Regions from separate parts of the Homo sapiens genome. Here all the other regions are linked to region 1. Evidence: promoter capture Hi-C in 16 types of primary human blood cells and fetal thymus (Javierre and others, 2016). All regions are on one chromosome and are shown on one strand. The core of a region is centred on a gene start or on the middle of the fragment in contact, and the rest is flanking DNA. Distances in the headings are between cores, read along the strand shown.

Evidence for each region. The method cuts DNA at HindIII sites, captures the fragments that hold promoters and counts their contacts. A CHiCAGO score of 5 or more calls a contact.
Region 2: a fragment that was not itself captured here is called in contact with the fragment with the promoter of CPNE8 in region 1 in 2 of 17 cell types (M2 macrophages and monocytes); the score reaches 8.0 in M2 macrophages.
Region 3: a fragment that was not itself captured here is called in contact with the fragment with the promoter of CPNE8 in region 1 in 1 of 17 cell types (M2 macrophages); the score reaches 5.8 in M2 macrophages.
Region 4: a contact is called between a fragment that was not itself captured here and the fragment with the promoter of CPNE8 in region 1, in 1 of 17 cell types (monocytes). The highest score is 5.5, in monocytes.
Region 5: a contact is called between a fragment that was not itself captured here and the fragment with the promoter of CPNE8 in region 1, in 4 of 17 cell types (M2 macrophages, monocytes, M1 macrophages and 1 more). The highest score is 22.8, in M2 macrophages.

Annotation. Positions count from the first base shown.
Region 1 is chr12:38,903,937-38,907,579 of GRCh38, reverse strand. It overlaps CPNE8 (copine 8), which reads left to right and starts at 1,989. Exons shown (of 20, transcript NM_153634.3): 1 at 1,989-2,143. The coding sequence starts at 2,046. It overlaps CPNE8-AS1 (CPNE8 antisense RNA 1), which reads right to left and starts at 1,868. Exons shown (of 2, transcript XR_007063275.1): 1 at 583-1,868. RefSeq lists an enhancer at 445-704 and a silencer at 1,835-2,004. The HindIII fragment of the contact is 5,959 bases long and covers 1-3,643 here.
Region 2 is chr12:38,313,254-38,316,896 of GRCh38, reverse strand. ALG10B (ALG10 alpha-1,2-glucosyltransferase B) reads right to left here and starts at 123. Exons shown (of 3, transcript NM_001013620.4): 1 at 1-123. The coding sequence starts at 3. RefSeq lists an enhancer at 1-1,052. The HindIII fragment of the contact is 9,799 bases long and covers 1-3,643 here.
Region 3 is chr12:38,331,493-38,335,135 of GRCh38, reverse strand. No RefSeq gene overlaps it. Among named protein-coding and RNA genes, the nearest start is that of ALG10B, 17 kb to the right of the region's middle. The HindIII fragment of the contact is 3,308 bases long and covers 403-3,643 here.
Region 4 is chr12:38,374,248-38,377,890 of GRCh38, reverse strand. No RefSeq gene overlaps it. Among named protein-coding and RNA genes, the nearest start is that of ALG10B, 59 kb to the right of the region's middle. The HindIII fragment of the contact is 8,931 bases long and covers 1-3,643 here.
Region 5 is chr12:38,391,236-38,394,878 of GRCh38, reverse strand. No RefSeq gene overlaps it. Among named protein-coding and RNA genes, the nearest start is that of ALG10B, 76 kb to the right of the region's middle. The HindIII fragment of the contact is 215 bases long and covers 1,978-2,192 here.

The DNA.
Region 1 (3,643 bases), core at 740-3,239:
CCACATACATAATTTTTAAAAATGCAAACTCTTCTATAGTGACATAAAGATCAGTGGTTGCTTAGAGGGTTGTTTCAGTGATGAAAGGAGGTACTGATTACGACGTAAGAAAACTTTTGGGTGATGGAATGATTCATTATTTTGATTTTGGTGATGGCTTCACAGGGAGATACATGAGTCAACATTTATCGAATGATGGATGCACTTTAAGTGCAGTTCATTATATATGTTATACCTCACTGAAGTGGAAACAAATTGGATGTAAGTATCCCACATGTTGACTACTAAAGTTCTCAAGTTTCATCTCTTCAGTAGGCTTCTGTAAAGTAAAATTCTGGTGAGCTTAAAAAAAAACCTAGATCTCTATGCCAAATTAACTTTGAGCAGCATAATAGAAATGCCTGGGGTTTTAGGGCATTTCCAAATCGCAGTAAACTACAGTTTAATTTGTAATAGGACAAGAGGAAGGAAAAAAAAAGAAGAAAAAGCGGTGGGTGGGGAAATCAGGAAAGGAAAGCAAGAAGAAACAGGGGAAGTACACTCGGCAGGGGAATCGGCAAGACTGCACCTACACACTCTCACCCGCCTCTATAGATTCTCTAGGCAGGAGGCTGCAAGTGGATTAAAATGTTACAACGCAAGGCAAGTCCTCCACCGCAAAAACTGCTCCTCCCAGACTTAGCCCAACCAGCTGGAAACTCCGTGCTTGGAGCGTTAAATCGGACGGACACCCGCCCCCTCTCCACCCTCTGCCTTCCAGCTGCGCCGCATCCTGTTCTCCGTCGCCGCCTGGTGGCGAGCTCCCGGGACCCGCAGGCGCTCGGGTGAGGCAGGAGGGAAGGCGCGGGGAACAAAGGTCCCTGCAGTGGAGGGGCGCCTCGTCTACCTCCGGATGCTTTTGCCACGACTCCGTCTTGGCACCAGTCTTGCTGCCCTGGAATGCAGTTTCCCAAACGCAGCGCTCACTCTGACTCCTCTCTGCTTTTATCCGTCAGGTCTCAGTTCTTGCGGGTGGGAGTCGGCTGAAGGAGCTGCGTTATATGGTTGTGACATCACCCTCCCCGGCCCCCATTTTCAGGTCAGAACTTTCATGCCTTTGGAAACGAGGGACCCAGAAGAGCCCTTACTGTAGGAGGAATGTCGCCGTTAGACCTCTAAGCTCCGAAGAACCAAGGGGAGACAGAATCCAGATTGCTTCCTTAAATCCCAAGTAGTATTGTTTTTTCCACCTTAGAGTCCGCCCCCCCGCCCCCACTTGTCCCATATATTGATCGGCCACTTTGCCACCGTGTTCCAAGGTTGGAGAGCGTCACAATGCCCCACCGTCCCCAACTCTCAAGTGGCCGACAGTGGGCAGTCCAGAAGCTGGGACCAGACTCATCTGCCCGAGGGCACAGTAGGAGGGACGGAGGGATCTCCCAAGAGCTCCGAGGGCGAGGTGAGAACCAATTGTGGGGAGGGGGACCTTATAACGGGGCAGTTAGGAACGGGCAGAGGTGCCCCCACCTCCAGCTTTCAACTCAGGCGAGGAAACTTCGAGACCTTCCCGTCCACACCTGATTGACAGAAGGAAGCTGTCGCGGCCCAGGAGGCGAGTGTGGGTGTGCAGAGGTGGAGACAAAACCTAAAAGCACGCAGAGCCGGCGAGGGCTTGCGGTCCTGGACGGTAGGGGTCTGCGTCTGGTGCCACCTTCTCCATCAGGCTGCTTGCTGGGTCCACCAAGCCTGACCCCTCCAGCCAGGAGGGGATCACGGAGTGTGTCCCCCGCCCGGGCTGCTGCCTGCCGGAAGGGGGCTGGGAAACCGGGATCCCCGCGCGCCACTTGCCTGGCAGCGTCAGTTTCACCCAGGACTGGCTAGCGGTTCCCTCGTGGCTCTGCGCGGAGGTCCGCCTCCTCCCTTCCCTCCCCCATCCCGCGCGCTGCCTCCGCCTCCTTCTTCTGCCTCCACCCTCAACCCCCATCCCCGCCTGACGGGAGCTAGCCCTCAGTCCGCCCGAGCTGTGGTTGTGGGCGCCGGACAAGTCCAAGGCGCCTCCTCCCAATATGGACAGCCGCTACAACAGCACTGCGGGCATCGGGGACTTGAACCAGCTGAGCGCTGCCATCCCGGCCACGCGGGTGGAGGTGTCCGTGTCCTGCAGGTGAGGACGCAGCCCTTCCCCTCTCTCCTGCCCTCTCATCTGTGGGGTTGGTAGCACTTGGAGAGCGCTCGGGGTACCACGAGGCTTTGCGCAGGCAAGAAGTTGCGCCATGAGTGGGAAATATCTCAGTAGTGGGGCTGGAGTTACCCCGGGTCAGGTGACACAGGGGAGCGGGAATTAGAAGCGGTGGGCTCCGGGACTGAGACTTTGTATTTTCTTTCTGGGAAACGCTGTAAAAGTTGGCTGGGCTGTGACTCAGCTGTGGGAACACCGGCCGCCGCCCACTTTACAAGCCGGTTTTCCGCCCCAAACCCGGGCTGGATGGTTGGGTGATGACCGGAATCGAAGGGGACAGCACTGCCAAAAGCTCTTGTGACCGCTGCACGCTTAGGCCCGGGACTTCCTCTGCTAGGCGTGTGCAAACCTGCTGTTGCTAGGGTTGGCTCCAACCCCGGCAGCTTCCTCCCCACCCACTTCCTGGAGCCTTCCAGCTTGCTTCTCCCCGACCCTTCCGGGCTTTTTGCCTTTTGCCTGATAGGTAGAGATTTCGGCCCTCCTTGCAGACGAATCTATGCCTTACCTAAGATCTGGGAAGTCACGACTTTTGTTTTGATTTGTTTTCGGGCCCACATCTGAGTGCTTGTAAAAACTGACTCTCGGCCGGGCGCAGTGGCTCAGTACAGTTTATACGCCTGTATTCCCAGCACTTTGGGAGGCCAAGGCGGGTGGATCACGAGGTCAGGAGTTCGAGACCAGCCTGGCCAATATGGTGAAACTCCGTCTCTACTAAAAATGCAAAAATTAGCCGGACGTGGTGGCACGCGCCTGTAGTCCCAGCTACTCGGGAGACTGAGACAGGAGAATCGCTTGAACCCGGGATGTGGATGTTGCAATGAGCTGAGATCTTGCCATTGCACTCCAGCCTGGGCGACAGCGCAAGACTCCATCTCAAAAAAAAAAAAAAAACAAAAAAAAACTGACTTTCAACCCTGTCCAGAGACTGTAAATTGCAAACTCGTTGTCCTGACCTTTCGGTTAGTTGCCCTGTAAATAAAGCAGCATCACCGCTATATCATAGATGATTTTGAGAAGGAGATGAGCGATGGTGCTAAATTGGTACTGGCCACTAATTTGCGAATTAATATTGACCCTGGAGCCCACTCCCTTGTTTGCATAATTGGGTCTGTCTCACTGGAAAACTGGCTCCTCATTTATCCATTTTTGCCCTAAGATTGTTTTTATGCCCTCACATCCTCCCTTTCCTTTCCTTAGCAAACTTGCCTTGAAGATATCTAACAAATTTGGGTGATCTTGATGTAAATAAGTTTAAAATTCCATCAATCTTGACTTTGCATTTTCACAAACTGAGCCTAAAGCCAAAGGAATTCTTTTCTGGGGGTGAAAATTCGAGCACCAGCAACCGTAGTAGAAGTATTATTTGAGGGTAGGGGACAGCCTTTATCTAGCCCTGAAACTATATCACCTGATTGTTTGCCGCCT
Region 2 (3,643 bases), core at 621-3,120, 590 kb after region 1:
CATTCCTGCTCCCACAGCCACTGCCCAAGAACCCACTCCTGGAAAATTCTGAGCCCGGAAACCCGAGCTGGAAACTTGGGCTCGAAATGGGCGCGCTAGACAGGACTAGCCAGACGGGGCCACATACCGGAAGGCAAAGGATGCTGGGAGAGCGCGGATCCGGAAAACAGCGGGTCGCTGTTTCCTGGAGTGACGGGTTTAGATAACGGACCGGATGATTACCCTCTCCATCACATTACTCGGGGCGCACAGTGTCAAAACTTCCGGAAAGGGCGGGTCTCGGATTTCGCGAGCGCGGGAGGGGCGTGGCTTGCTGCTTTGGAAAAAAAAAAAAGCCGCTTCTTAGCTTGGATCTTTTTTCCTGCTCATTTCCATCACTTACCAGAAGGTGGCGACGTTTCCCCACGTTTCCAATTCCAAGCCCTAAAATTAACACATTTTTTTCCCCCGTTATTTCTTTTCTTTCTCTCCAGTGATCCGAATTAATTAAACCCTCAATTCCAAGACATTTCATTCCATCAACCTTGGAGTGTAGGAAGGGGGCGTTGGTTGTGATAGCAAAGACTGAGACTTTCAGATGAAAACTTGAAGAACCAGAGACCCGTCAATGCCGAATGAACTTCAGTGAGAGGAGTGTTTGTTCGTTTGTTTGTTTGTTTAGGTTAAGAGAGAACTCTTTCAAAATGTGGATGCTCTCAGAGGATTTAGTAAAATTGACACTCCTAGTGCACTCTCATAGCCATATTACCCTGTAGGATTTGGAAGAAAATATATATTTTAGAATTTGGGATGTTTTAGGTGTGCCTGTAAATTAGGTTGTTAATATTTATAAGGCAGCCTTCTGTTTTTCCTACTAAATCATAAGCGTGAACATCTTAGTGGGTGGCATTATACATCCTTTATGTTTGTAGTCCCCCAAATGGCTTTCACACAGTAGGCACTTAAATTTGTGGACTTTTATAGGCTGTGTAGACATCATCAAATTCCTGTATTCTGGGATTAGGTGTTGGGGGCAGGAGATGTGGTAAATAATTTGAAGAATGCCGAAGATAAATTATGTGTTGGAATTTTGTCTTGAGCATGGTTGGCCATGTTTTGTAGAAAAACTTTCTCTCAGGTAACCTCAGTCAGGTTGCCTTTGGCAGGCATATATCAGATTGAGTCGGGATTTAAGGTTGCAAACCTCAGAGTTCTCAATTGAGCTCTTTTTCTGGGTTAAAAATAATTCAGTATTTCTGAACTTAAGAAAGTTTCTTAAATCAAGCTGACTGCCTTTCCAGTCTGTCTCTGCCTGTTTCCTCAATGATAAGAGGAGGTAGTGGTGAATGAGGGCTGGGACGGGAATATTTACATTACTGGAATAAAATCATGTCAGGATTCTACTCTGATGTGATGCTTAGCTTTGCTTTAACCATCATCTCCCATTTTATTATTGATTCCATGCTGTACTTATCTGTTTAAGTCACTTGTAACACATCTCCAGATGATTCAGTCTTCAAGAGGTTGATGTGATCTACGAGTAATTAGCCCCTGACCTATTGACCTGCTAAATCGTGTTATATATACTCTGCAGCTTACTGACCCACCCTAGAAATAGTGGGCCGTTTTTAAAGGGAGTAGAACAAGACTAGACATTTATGCTCTCCATTTTTCTTCATAACAATTGCCACCAATAGTTTATGTTAAACATTTGACTCCTATACATGCTGCACACATCGCTTTACATAAAATGGAAAGTTTCAAGGAAATATAGGGTTTTAGGATGGCTAGGGATCTTTATTAATAATCTACTTGACTTCATTTTATAAAAGAAGCTGATTTTTAAAAAATGAATAATTTACCTAAAATTACATAAAAAATTAGTGTCAGAACCAAGTGTAGGAATTAGAACATCAGACCAAGAGTAATAAAATAACTTCACAGCCTTATAGGTTAAAATAATCTACAATATATACTGAATTGAATGTTTCACTAGTCCCAATAACTTTACATTTACATTCCACTATTCTCTGTTTCCATACACCAATTTGAAATACAAGTTTCATCTTTTAAAAAAATGTTCGTCTTACAGACTAATTACATCAAAATCTGCTGGGGGATCATTGTGAAAAACTAGATTCTAGAGAGCCATCTCAAATCACTGAATACTGATCTTCATATTTGGAAACGATTGATGTAAAACATATTACCTAAGAATGCTAAGAAGCTCCATGGGCCCAGTAGAGTTCTTCATAGAGTACTTCACTCATTTGTTAGTGAGTTACTTTTACTATCTGCAAATCGATGAAGCTGTTGTCACTTTTCTACTCTTAGATTACAGCATCTTTGATAATCTTGAAATGCTTTCCAAAGCTCTGCTCCTAAATCAAGACCTAGTAAAATAGCTACCTCTGGGGTTTTAATGAAATAGACTACATTTTATTAGACCTATCATTTAAAACTAGATCAGCATTGATTTCAACTTATATTTTCCATTCAGAATTCCAACTGCCATTTTCCATAGATGTTTGTGAAAAAGAGTCATTAGGATGAGCAATCCCATTATAATTGCACATCAACTATTTATTTGTGCTACTTGAATTATGATAAATAAGTTACGGCAGAAAAATGGGCAATTTCTGTTGGGGTTCTAAGGATAGGTTGTTTTAGCAAGAAATACATCTTTTTTGGTTTATAAGCCATTAAGATTTTGACTTTATTTCTCTGGTATAACCTAGCTGACTTTGATCAATTAAGACATTCCTAATTTGATGAACTCAGACAACATAGCATATACTTAACTGTTTGAAACAGCCATATCTGAACAGTGAATTTCCCCAAAGGCTGTAACTGTAATAACTTTGAAGTATTAGTCCAAGAAACACCCTGCCTCTTATTGCACCCCTTTTCACTTGTTGCTGAATGAAAACATTGGCCACTTGCTAATCAGAGTGACGGTTTACTCCTTTCTAGGTGACAATTCGTTCTAGCTACAGCAGAGTACTGCACCCTGGGCCAAAAATCACAGATGATAACCTCTAAAATGCAACTCTACCCTTGAGGTCAATCTTAACATATCAATTTAAAATCTAAATTTTAAAATTAATGAATCAATTAAAAAAACACACAACATTTTAGTACAAAAGCATTAGCAAGTATTTTAGCTCTACTGAAAATGTCTTGAAGACATTGTATAGGGGACTGGTTAAACCTAAGTAACACACACACGGAGAGACCCTTCTAAAAAACAGTAATATTTATTTGGTGAGAATACAATGAACATAGGGAGGTAAAAGAAGACAAGGGATTTTAAAAGAAAAATGAAGAGGGTTACATAAATTGCTTTGAGACAATTATCCTTGGTTACAAGGACTGGTAGAAAGGGTGGCACCAGTTTGAGGTTGGACAGGCAGTTGCTGGGCAAATGTCCTCACAGAAGTAATTTTTTGTGAGATTGTGGTGGCCTTTGTGCAAAGTTGTGGTTTGTGCAGTCTTTTGTCGTAGTTCCTGTTGTCAGGCATACACGCATATAAACCCTCCCTTTCTGGTCTTCCTTAGCTCCATTTTTCAGGGTTTTTATGCAAGTGGCCCCATTTTGATTCTGATAACTTTCATAGAACAAATCTTTCTGGTTTGTGGCAGACTTTCCAGTTTTACCCTTGAA
Region 3 (3,643 bases), core at 807-3,306, 570 kb after region 1:
AAAGTGCTGGGATTACAGGCATGAGCCACCGCGCCCGGCCCTACATATTCTCTATTTTTTTTTTTAAGATGGAGTCTTGCTTTGTTGCCCAGGCTGGAGTGCAATGGCACGATCTCAGCTCACCGCAACCTCCGCCTCCCGGGTTCAAGCGATTCTCCTGTCTCAGGCTCCAGAGTATCTGTGATTACAGGCATGCGCCACCACGCCCGGCTAATTTTATATTTTTAGTAGAGACAGGGTTTCTCCATGTTGATCAGGCTGATCTCGAACTCCTGATCTCAGGTGATCCACCTGCCTCGGCCTCCCAAAGTGCTGGGATTACGGGCGTGAGCCACTGTGCCAGGCCTTACATATTCTTAATTACGGGGAATAGAATGCAGCTATGATTATCTGCTTCAAGCTTCTAACCACATGTTTTCAAAATGCTCAATGACAAAAATAAGCAAATATATTTGCTTAAAGCTAAAAATGTTCAAAGAATGCATTTTTTAAAAAAAAATGAAAAATTGACTAGCATCTGTGACATTATGAAGGTAAGTAAAATGGTACCAAGTTCCTGTCAGACTAATAACTGGAAAAGATGTCCAGGAGTGCCACCTTGAGAGAAAATTTAAGACAATGCATTTTGAAAACAAAATTGGCATAAAGGGTTTCAATGTTGCTCATCACAGTTACCCCAACTAAAGGACATCACTGTAAATTTTTATAGTACAAGTGAAGAGATAAGCATGGTCTTTCAACTCAGATCCTATTATATTCTTCTGTCTTTTCATATCAGTATTCCACATGTATTTCATTCCAATGTGCCTCTTGGATATTATTTTAATGGAGAAAGGTATTCTTAGAGTCATTGGTATGTGAAGAAAGGATTTCTCTCTTTTTTTCTACTCTTTCTGGTGGTTCCTTTCTCTGTCTTCAGTCTTCCTACTTACTCTCTTCCTTCTTTTCCTAGCAATACCCCTAAAGTTCTCATGCTCATGATCCCCAGAAATACTTGTGCTTATGTGTGGGCAGGCAGTGTGTGGGTATGTGTGGGGGATATGGTTGGAGAGCTGGAGGGAATAGAATAAGACATTCTCATATGCTTTTATAATATTAATAACCAATTAGCTTTAATGTGTTACTTTTCCTTGCATTTCCTGCATTTTATGATACATTTCCCTGCATTTCAAAGAACAAAATTTATGACCAAGACATAGATTTCTAGATGTGGCTAAGTAAAAACTACTGACTTAGATCAAGATCATCCCCTCCCATGGTTCTCCACAGCCCAGGGCCTGTTTATACCTCTGAAACCTTACAATGTATTTGGCCCAAAGACCCAATGTATACATTAAACACACACACACACACACACACACACACACACACACACATACAGAGTGAAGATTCTAGGTCAAGCTAGGTTTCATCTAAATTTGATTTTTTCACTAGACCTTTAGAGAGTGATAGGGTTGCAAGGAAAATATAAAAATTACAAAGAATAGTACTTACTGAGAAAGACTGATAGGGTACCTGTTACAGGTCATGAAACGTTTCTCCTAAGACTGCATCTCTCCTCCTGGCTTCAAACCCTTTCAGATCAAATATTTTAGGGAGGTCTCCAAAACTCCTCATGTTTCTGATGGAGAGCAACCTTCTCTCTGGCTTCTGCATCACTTACAACAGGATCTACAGGAGAGTGGAGGGCCTGTCTCACAGAGCCATTCTACTGGTGCGAACTGAAACCTGGCTATCGAATCTAAATAACTATGTTTCTCTCCACACCAATTTATCTGTGGGTCTCTGCGTGGGACATATGCTTTCCTTGCTCCTCACTGTATACAGCAGAGCACTGTTCTTACTTTCTTCCTAAAAATAACCTCAGTTCTTTGGATGCACAGGCCATCAGATGATGCAAGTTTAGCAGGAATCAGTATAGCGCCCTGGTTAAGAGGGCATGTTCTGGAGCCGCATTTCCTGTTTGTAAACTATTTCAATTCCCTATGACTTATTTTCCTTGTCAGTAAAAATGGGGATCATAATAGCATTTGCCTTAGGGCATCTCTATGAGGCTTAAATAAATTCATGTTCAATATTTAGACTGGTGCCTGTCACATAGCACTGCATAAGTGTTGGCCACTGTCACCACCTGCTTCTCAGCCATATGGTTTGCATCACATTATTCTGCCTGAAATGCTTTCTGCAGTGTCTCCACAGGTTTCCATACAAATAATCTCCAGTGTGAATTTCTCCATGAAGTATGTCTTTGTCCCTTCAGTCAGATGTGATTTCTATTCTCATGTAAACACCCTAGCTCTTATATTCCTCCTCAGTGATAATCATATTGTACTTTGCATTAGTTAGCCCCCATTAGGCGAGTTCATCTTGTCTAGAGTAGGTCACTTTTGCGTTTCTTGATACCGTTTTTTTCACACAAGGTTCCCTCAAGTTGTCATTGCATTTAATAACAAATACTACGATAAACTTTGTTAGAGGACCATATTAGAAGGTGATATGGTTTGGCTGTGTCCTCAACCAAATCTCATCTTGAATTTTAGCTCCCATAATTCCCAGGTGTCATGGGAGGGACCCAGGGGGAGGTAACTAAATCATGGGGGCAGGTCTTTCCCATACTCACTCCTAGTAGTGAGTAAGTCTCACGAGAGCCAATTGTTTTATAAATGGGAGTTGTCCTGTGTAAGCATTCTCTTTGCCTGCCACCATGTAAAATGTGACTTTGCTCCTCCTTCACCTTCTGCCATGATTGTGAGGCCTCTGCAGCCATGTGGAACTGTGAGTTGATCAAACCTCTTTCCTTTATAAATTACCCAATCTCGGGTATGTCTTTATTGGCAGCATGAGAATGGGCTAATACAGAAGTCCATATTCCAAAAACTTACTGTTGCCACCTAAACTATTTTCAGGAATTCTCCCTTTTAGTTTCACAAAACCAAAAATAACACCCACAACTTCCTTATCTAATAAACAGAAAGACTACACATAACACATGTTAACTACAATCAAGACAAGGTTCTTAGGCAGGTCATGGTAGAGGAGCTTTTATTATATTAGCTTTCCAGTAGATTGACTCATTTAAAAAGGGAAAAAATCTTTTTGGAAACATTGAAGAGTAAACAAAAGAAGGCAGGAACTGGATGGACTCAGTTGAAAGATCTCACTGGGTGAGATCCATGTTTATATGGCTTTTCCCCCAGAGGGCACACCCTAGTTAGAAAGGTGCAGTATGATTGGTTTGAGGTGTGAAAGGATGGAACTCAGGACTGCTAGAGTAGCTGTAATTAGGAGAAATCTCAGAAAAGAGGGAGTCACAGAAGAAGGGAATCCCAAAATCTGTGTATAAGTCCTGGGCTGACCTCTGAGCTGCATATGATAAGAGAAACTCGAAGACACCCAATGGAAAGTAAGAGGTGGAAGTCTGCAAACACAGAGTAGGGACCACTTTCTTTTTTTTCACCACAAGACCCAAAGACTGGGGCTTGAACCCTGCCAAGTTAGATGTGTTTGGTAAATACTCTGAGCTTCCTACAGACCTAGCCTAAAAAAGAAACCCAAGCCCCAACAAGTTCAAGGTGATCAGCCAGTAATTTAACTGCTTTCTATTATTATGAGAATAAAAGGAAGATTATACAGACACCCAGGC
Region 4 (3,643 bases), core at 360-2,859, 530 kb after region 1:
TAATAATAATAATAATAATAATAAAAATACTTAGAAATATACCTAACAAAGGAGGTGAAAGGCCTCCACAAGGAAAACTACAAAGCACTGCTAAAAGAAATCATAGATGACATAAGCAAATGAAAACACATCCCATGCTCATGGATGGGTAGACTCAATATTGTGAGAATAACCTTACTGCCAAAAGCAATCTACAAATCCAACACAATCCCCATAAGAATACCACCATCATTCTTCACAGAGTCAGAAAAAACAATTCTAAAATTCACATGGAACCAAAAAAAAAAAAAAAAAAGACCTGCAGAGCCAAAGCAAGACTAAGCAAAAAGAATAAATCTGGAGGCATTACACTACCTGATTTCAAAATATACTGTAAGGCCATAGTCACCAAAACAGCATGGTACTTGTATAAAAATAGGCACATAGACCAATGTAACAGAATAGCAAACCCAGAAATAAACCCAAACACTTACAGCCAGTTGATCTCCAACAAATCAAACACAAACATAAAGTGGGGAAAAGACACTCTTTTCAACAAATGGTGCTGGGATAATTGGCTATCGACATTTAGGAGAATGAAATTGGATCCTCATTTCTCACCTTATACAACAATCAACTCAAGATGGATTAAAGAATTAAACCTAAGTCCTGAAATTATAAAAATTCTAGAAGATAACATTGGAAAAACCCTTCTAGACATTGACTGAGGCAAAGATTCCATGACCAAGAATCCAGAAGCAATGCAACAAAAACAAAGATAAATAGCTGGGACCTAATTAAAGAGCTTTTGTACAGCAAAAGGAACAGTCAGCAGAATAAACAGACAACCACAGAGTGGGAGAAAATCTTCACAATCTATACATCTGACAAAGGACTAATATCCAGAATCTACAGCGAACTGAAACAAATCAGGAGGATAAAAACAAACAATTCCATCAAAAAGTGGGCTAAGGACATAAATAGACAATTCTCAAAAGAAGATTTACAAATGGCCAATAAACATATGAAAAAATGCTCAACATCACTAATGATCAGGGAAATGCAAATCAAAACTACAATGCAATACCACCTCACTCCTGCAAGAATGGCCGTAATCAAAAATTCAAAAAACAGTAGACGTTGGCATGGATGTGGTGAACAGGCAACACTTTTACACTGCTGGTAGGAATGTAAACTAGTACAGCCACTTTGGAAAACAGTGGGGAGATTCCTTAAAGAACTAAAAGTAGAACTACCATTTGATACAGCAATCCCACTCCTGGGTATCTACCCAGAGGAAAAGAAGTCATTATTCGAAAAAGATACTTGCACACACGTTTTTAGCAGCACAATTTACAATTGCAAAATCATGGAACCAACCCAAATGCCCATCAATCAATGAGTGGATAAAGAATCTGTTATATATATTACATATATATAGCGGAATAATATGCAGTCATAAGAAGGAATGAATTAACAGCATTTGCAGACCTTGATGAGACCAGAGGCTATTATTCTAAGGGAAGTAACTCAGGAATGGAAAACCAAACATTGTATGTTCTCACTGATATGTGAAAGCTAAGCTATGAGGATGCAAAGGCATAAGAATGATAAAATGGACTTTGAAGACTTGGGGGTAAGAGTGGTATTGGGGCGAGGGATAAAAGACTACAAATAGGGTACAGTGTTTGCTGCTCAGGTGATGGGTGCACCAAAATCTCACAATCACCACTAAAGAACTTACTCATACAACCAAATACCACCTGTATCCCAATAACTTGTGCAAAAATAAAAAAATTAAAAAAATAAAGTATAATTCCAACTTCTTTATTTTTTTTTAATGTGGCTCTCCAGTTATCCCAGGACAATGTCACCCCTTTCAAAATCAATTGACCACAAATGTGGTGGTATATTTCTGGATTTTCAACTCTATTTCATTCATACATTTGTCTCTTCTCATACCAATACCACACTGGCTTGATTACTATAGCATTATAGTAAATTCTAAAATCAAAAATTATAAATCCTTCACATTTCTTTTTCTTTTTAAATACTGTTTTGGCTAAGCCCCTTGAATTTTCTTCTAAGCCCCTTGACTTTTCATGAATTTTAGGATCAGCTTACCAATTTATTCAAAAACGGTAGCTGAGATTTTTAAAGGAACTGTGTTTTTTTGTAGTTTTATTACCACAGTCTCACACAGCAATTTAAGCTACCTCTCATACTTAACACAATTCGTTTTGAAGTATAGTTGTTTATATTATAGTGTTATCTCTTTTTCTGGATTGTAAACTTCATGACAGTGGAAGCTGTATCTTATTCTTTAATTTCCTGAAAAGTCTTAAAAAATATTTGCAAAAACCAGATACTTGAAAATACTTAGCTTGTAGAAAATTTTTAAACTAGAACAGGCTGAAATCTAGTTAATAAGATATTTTTGGTCTTCTTCAAAGTGGATTTACATATATCCATTGTCAATTTGATCAATTACTGTCAAATAAGGACATGACCAGTTGGTTTTACAATATATGTATGATAGACTTGGGAATACCATTCTCCACTTTCTATCTCTATGCTTGTAAGTTTCACTTTGAGTACAAGGCTTGTTCGTAGCTGCTATTTTATTTTAGTCATTTAATCAGTCTTTGCTTTCTGGCCAACGTGGCTTAACCATGCCCCTCCCAACCAAAGAAAACAAAACAAAAAAACATGGAAGTACACATATTAGTTTTTTTTTTTCCCCAGGAGTTCACAGAAATTTCAGTAAATGAATATAAGCATAATTTAAAATGGTTTAAAAATAGAAATATGCTGGTGGTTGAGTGTGGGTCATGATTCATCAACTATTCATAAATAGCAGGAAAATAATAGTTACTCTGTTCATGCCATCTTGGCTAATGAAGAAAAAAAACAAAACACTTCTATATGTAGCACTTTTCCAGCCAAAAATAAATGGGTATCACTTTCAGGTTTTAATTGCCACATCTGTTTTTCCATGTAGTCATGGCATTAACACAATGGGACATGTCTTAATGATTAGTAGACATAATATGCATTATTTTCAGCTCACAGAAAAATCTTGCCAAGAGACTCCCATACATGGAATAAAGGTACAGGGAGTTTTCCAAATTGTAACCAATGCTAGTTCATCTATACCATGGTTAACAATGAATTACTTGACACATCTCTAATTAAAACACCAGAGTGGTGTTTCTAGTCAATAGGAATCACAGTGTGATCAGTGTGAACACATGCTTGCCAAGTTTCTGATTATTGTATGGCAGTACACACCCAGATGGTGTAGAGTTCTTTATATTTGATCCTCTGACACTTAAAATTGACACATGCCTGACTAGCTGTTCACTGTGGTAATGTATGCAATTCCCTGTTTTCTACTTGTATATCCTGAACCACCTACTAAAAATTATTTTTTTGTAAGTTAAGCAATTATTCTGATCTGCATAATTGCATACTCTCCAAGTCCATTATCCACAAATTGCATTCTATAGTTTTATATAAGTATGTCTCCAATTATTTACAAGTAAAAGATGATTTATAATGGAATAGATATGCCAACAGATGTGGCTAAATATACAAACAATCCAACTCAATTTGTAACCAACATACATACAATAGTCACTGCATACTTCTTGACTTCTTGATA
Region 5 (3,643 bases), core at 836-3,335, 510 kb after region 1:
TTTAATTGAGACAGATCTATTTCCTAATATATTACACTAATAGGTTAATTTAAATTATGTTCTCATTTTCTTGGAGTCTATAATCATCAGCTACTTTGAGGAGAATTTAAAAAGAAAGTATAAGAAGAAGAAAAAAGAGACATTTGGCCCTGGACATGTTCCTTGTAGGTACCATTTTACTGTCCCTTAGTATCTATCATTATTAATATCACTTAATTTTGATTTAGTGAAAAATTAATTTATACTTAGTTTTTCCATTTATTCCTCTCCCATTTACTCCTCAAACTAGAGCCAACATATTTCTCACTCCTCCATCAAAAAACAAACAAAAAACTCACCCTATCAAAAAATAAACACTGGGTAATTCTCTCTCCCTTTCATGATCTTTCAGCAGCATATGGCAGGTTGATTCTTTTTTAAACTAGCTTTCTTCATGCTTCTATAACAGTTTATTGTTGTTGATTATTTTGTAGGTTACCTATTATCTGCCTACATTTTATTAATATTTCCCCAAAGCTCTTCCTGGCCCCATTCCTAACCTCCTGGAGTGATTTCATGAACTTCTTGTCACTTCTGTTGTAAGAGTATAGAGTACAAACTCTAGAATAAGATTTGCTGGTTTCAAATCCCAACTCTAGGCAAGTTAATCTTGACATGCATCAATTGCCTCTTCTGTGTAAGAGAAAACATAATAGTAACAATCTCAGGTTTGTTGTGAGGACAAAATTAAGATATGTAAATAGTTTTTAAAATTCCTAGTATATAATAAAATAACATAAATATTAGATCATATGGAAACCAGTACTTTTTATGTTGATAAAATTCATGTATCTATCTGTATTAGTCCATTTTCATGCTGCTGATAAAGCCACACCTGAGACTGGGAAGAAAGAGAGGTTTAATGAACTTACAGTTCCATGTAGCTGGGGAGGCCTCATAATCATGGCAGAAGGCAAGGAGGAGCAAGTCACATCTTATATGGATGGCAGCAGGCAAGAGTGACCTGGTTCAGGGGAACTCCTCTTTTTAAAACCATCAGATCTCATGAGACTTATTCACTATCACAAGAACAGCACAGGAAACACCTGCCCCCATGATTCAGTTACCTCCCACTGGGTCTCTCCCACAACACATGGGAATTCAAGATGAGATTTGGGTGGGGACACAGCCAAACCATACCACTCTATCCCAAAATTTATCTTCTGAGATTTTTTTCTTCTTTTATGATCATTCTATTTTTAATGCACAAATATAGTCTATATTTAAAACAACGTAATATAAGAATTATCTGCCTCAGCATTTAATATTTCTGTCAGCTATATGATGCATACTCCCAGTCAAAAATCAGAGATTCATAACTTCATTTTTAAATGGGTGAACAGTGTTCTCTTATGTGGTATACTGCACTTTAATTAATCTTCCACAGTTGGACATTTGTATTGTAATCCAGTGTATTTCTATAATAATACATTATTAATTTAAAAAGTATTTGTTGAATATTAACAGTTAGAAAATTGATAGACTAGAGAGCTATTCAATTTCTTACCATTCAAGTACATAGTTTGCAATTTAGACCTCAAAGACCAAGAATACTACTACAGTGGCAGCACACTTGTGTAGACTAAAGATATTGGTTGGGAGGCCAGCACTGCTATTGAAGATGTGCTTAAATGTCAAGCCCCCAACTGCCTTTGATCTTGGAATTACTTGTAGCCATTATTCCCTTCCTGCAAGACTACAACGTAAAGTGGGATACACAACAATTATTTTAGTTTGTTTTGGACAGCAAGGTACCTAGAAAGACAAGAATCGCCATAAAACATGAATGTTTCAAAGATCTGTGCAGACTTCTGGCAAGGACATTTCCTGTTTTCAAAGATGAACTGGTGAATCTGGTAAATAGAGAAATTCAAAGAAGATATTCATTACAACTTTCTAAATTAGGGTTTTGAGAGTTTCTAAGGCATGACAGAAGCTTGGAGTACTGAATTAGCCATGTTTCGTAAAGCAGGTACTGATATTTTTAAAGTAAGAATGCTAAGGTGACTCATTTTGTTGAGGCTGCAAGGCAGATACCTCAGCTAGAATGCCTTGGGCGATTGCAAAATCTCAATGGCAGTAGCAAGATACTGAACATGGCTTAACAGTTTCTAAATATGAGTCATTAAGCTAGTTCTTAAGTAATATAAGCTTGAATATACAGTTAACAGATCAACCCCTCCCCTTTCTTCCCCATCCTCAGCTTACTCAATAGGAAGACAAAAAGGATCAAGACGTTTATGATAATCCACTTGCACTTAATAAATAGTAAATATATTCTCTCTTTCTTACAACCTTCTTAGTAAATTTTGTAAAAATACAGCATATAATACATATAACATGCAAAATATATGTTAATCAACTGCTTATATTATCAGTGAGGCTTCCAGTCAACAGTAGGCTATTATAAAGTTTTTGAGGAATCGAAATTTATATGCAGATTTTCTACTGTGCAGGGCTCAACACACCTAACCCTAATTGTTCTAGGGTCAACTGCAATTACTTTTCTCCTTTGTAGATTGATTACTTGCCAGGCAACATATTGGCTCTGAGGATTGAAATGTAAATAAGACGTGGTCTGATGTCTCAGAACTCATGGTCTAACAGCAGATGTGGACATATAAACAATTAATAGTACTTTCCAATTAGAAAAAGAAAAATGGCATTTCAGAGCATAGGAATCATGTGCAGAAAAGCACAGTGCCAAGACCTTGTTATGACATATTTGGTAACTGAACAGACATGTTAGCCTTCTAGAAATGAAAATTAATAAAATCAAACAACTCTGAAAAAAAGGAATAACAATAAAGCCCTAACATTCTGTCTTTGACAATCCCCTCTCCTTGGGCAAGCACAAATCCTCAGTGAGAAGACAGTATTCAAAGTTATCTTCTTTCTGGAATACTTTATCAAATTATTATATTAGTATAATTCCTGGTAATCCCTCATATTGTAAGAATTATGTATTACTATGTGAAGACTTTTTTAAAAGTTTACAACATATATTTCCACTAAATTACTCATACTATAGTAATTTTGCCATTTGATTGTATATTTGGGCAACACTGAAAAGATTTGTGTCTCTATTGACTTTTGATAGGAAATGCTCGTACTGTGAGATGCATAGAACATTCCCCAACTTTTCACCTAACTCTCATTCATTCTTCATGTCTCTCCCTAAATGTGACTTTCCATAGCAAGCCTTCCCCGACCTCTTAGACTATTTTTACTCCCAGATTATACTCTTTTCATGTCATCATAAGAATCATACTTTACTGTAATTCTTCATGAGATTATTTTTCTCTCTCACTATGAAACTATAACCAGGGAGCCATACCCTTTTTACTTAACTTTGTACACCCAGAATCCATCACCTGCTTTCTCACATCAACTAAAACCATTAAGTGGTAGAGTCTGTTAATCAGCCATGGCCTTAGAAGTAGTTTTTCCTGAAATTAATGGCACATGACAGTAATATGGCCTATGTTGACACATATTTGAAGGATAGTAGAGTTTAAGCAGGACAGTCTCTTTTCTGGGAACACAGCAAAAACAAACCTGCATATTTGAATATCAAATTCAGTGTTCTTAGCTGAGCTAACCA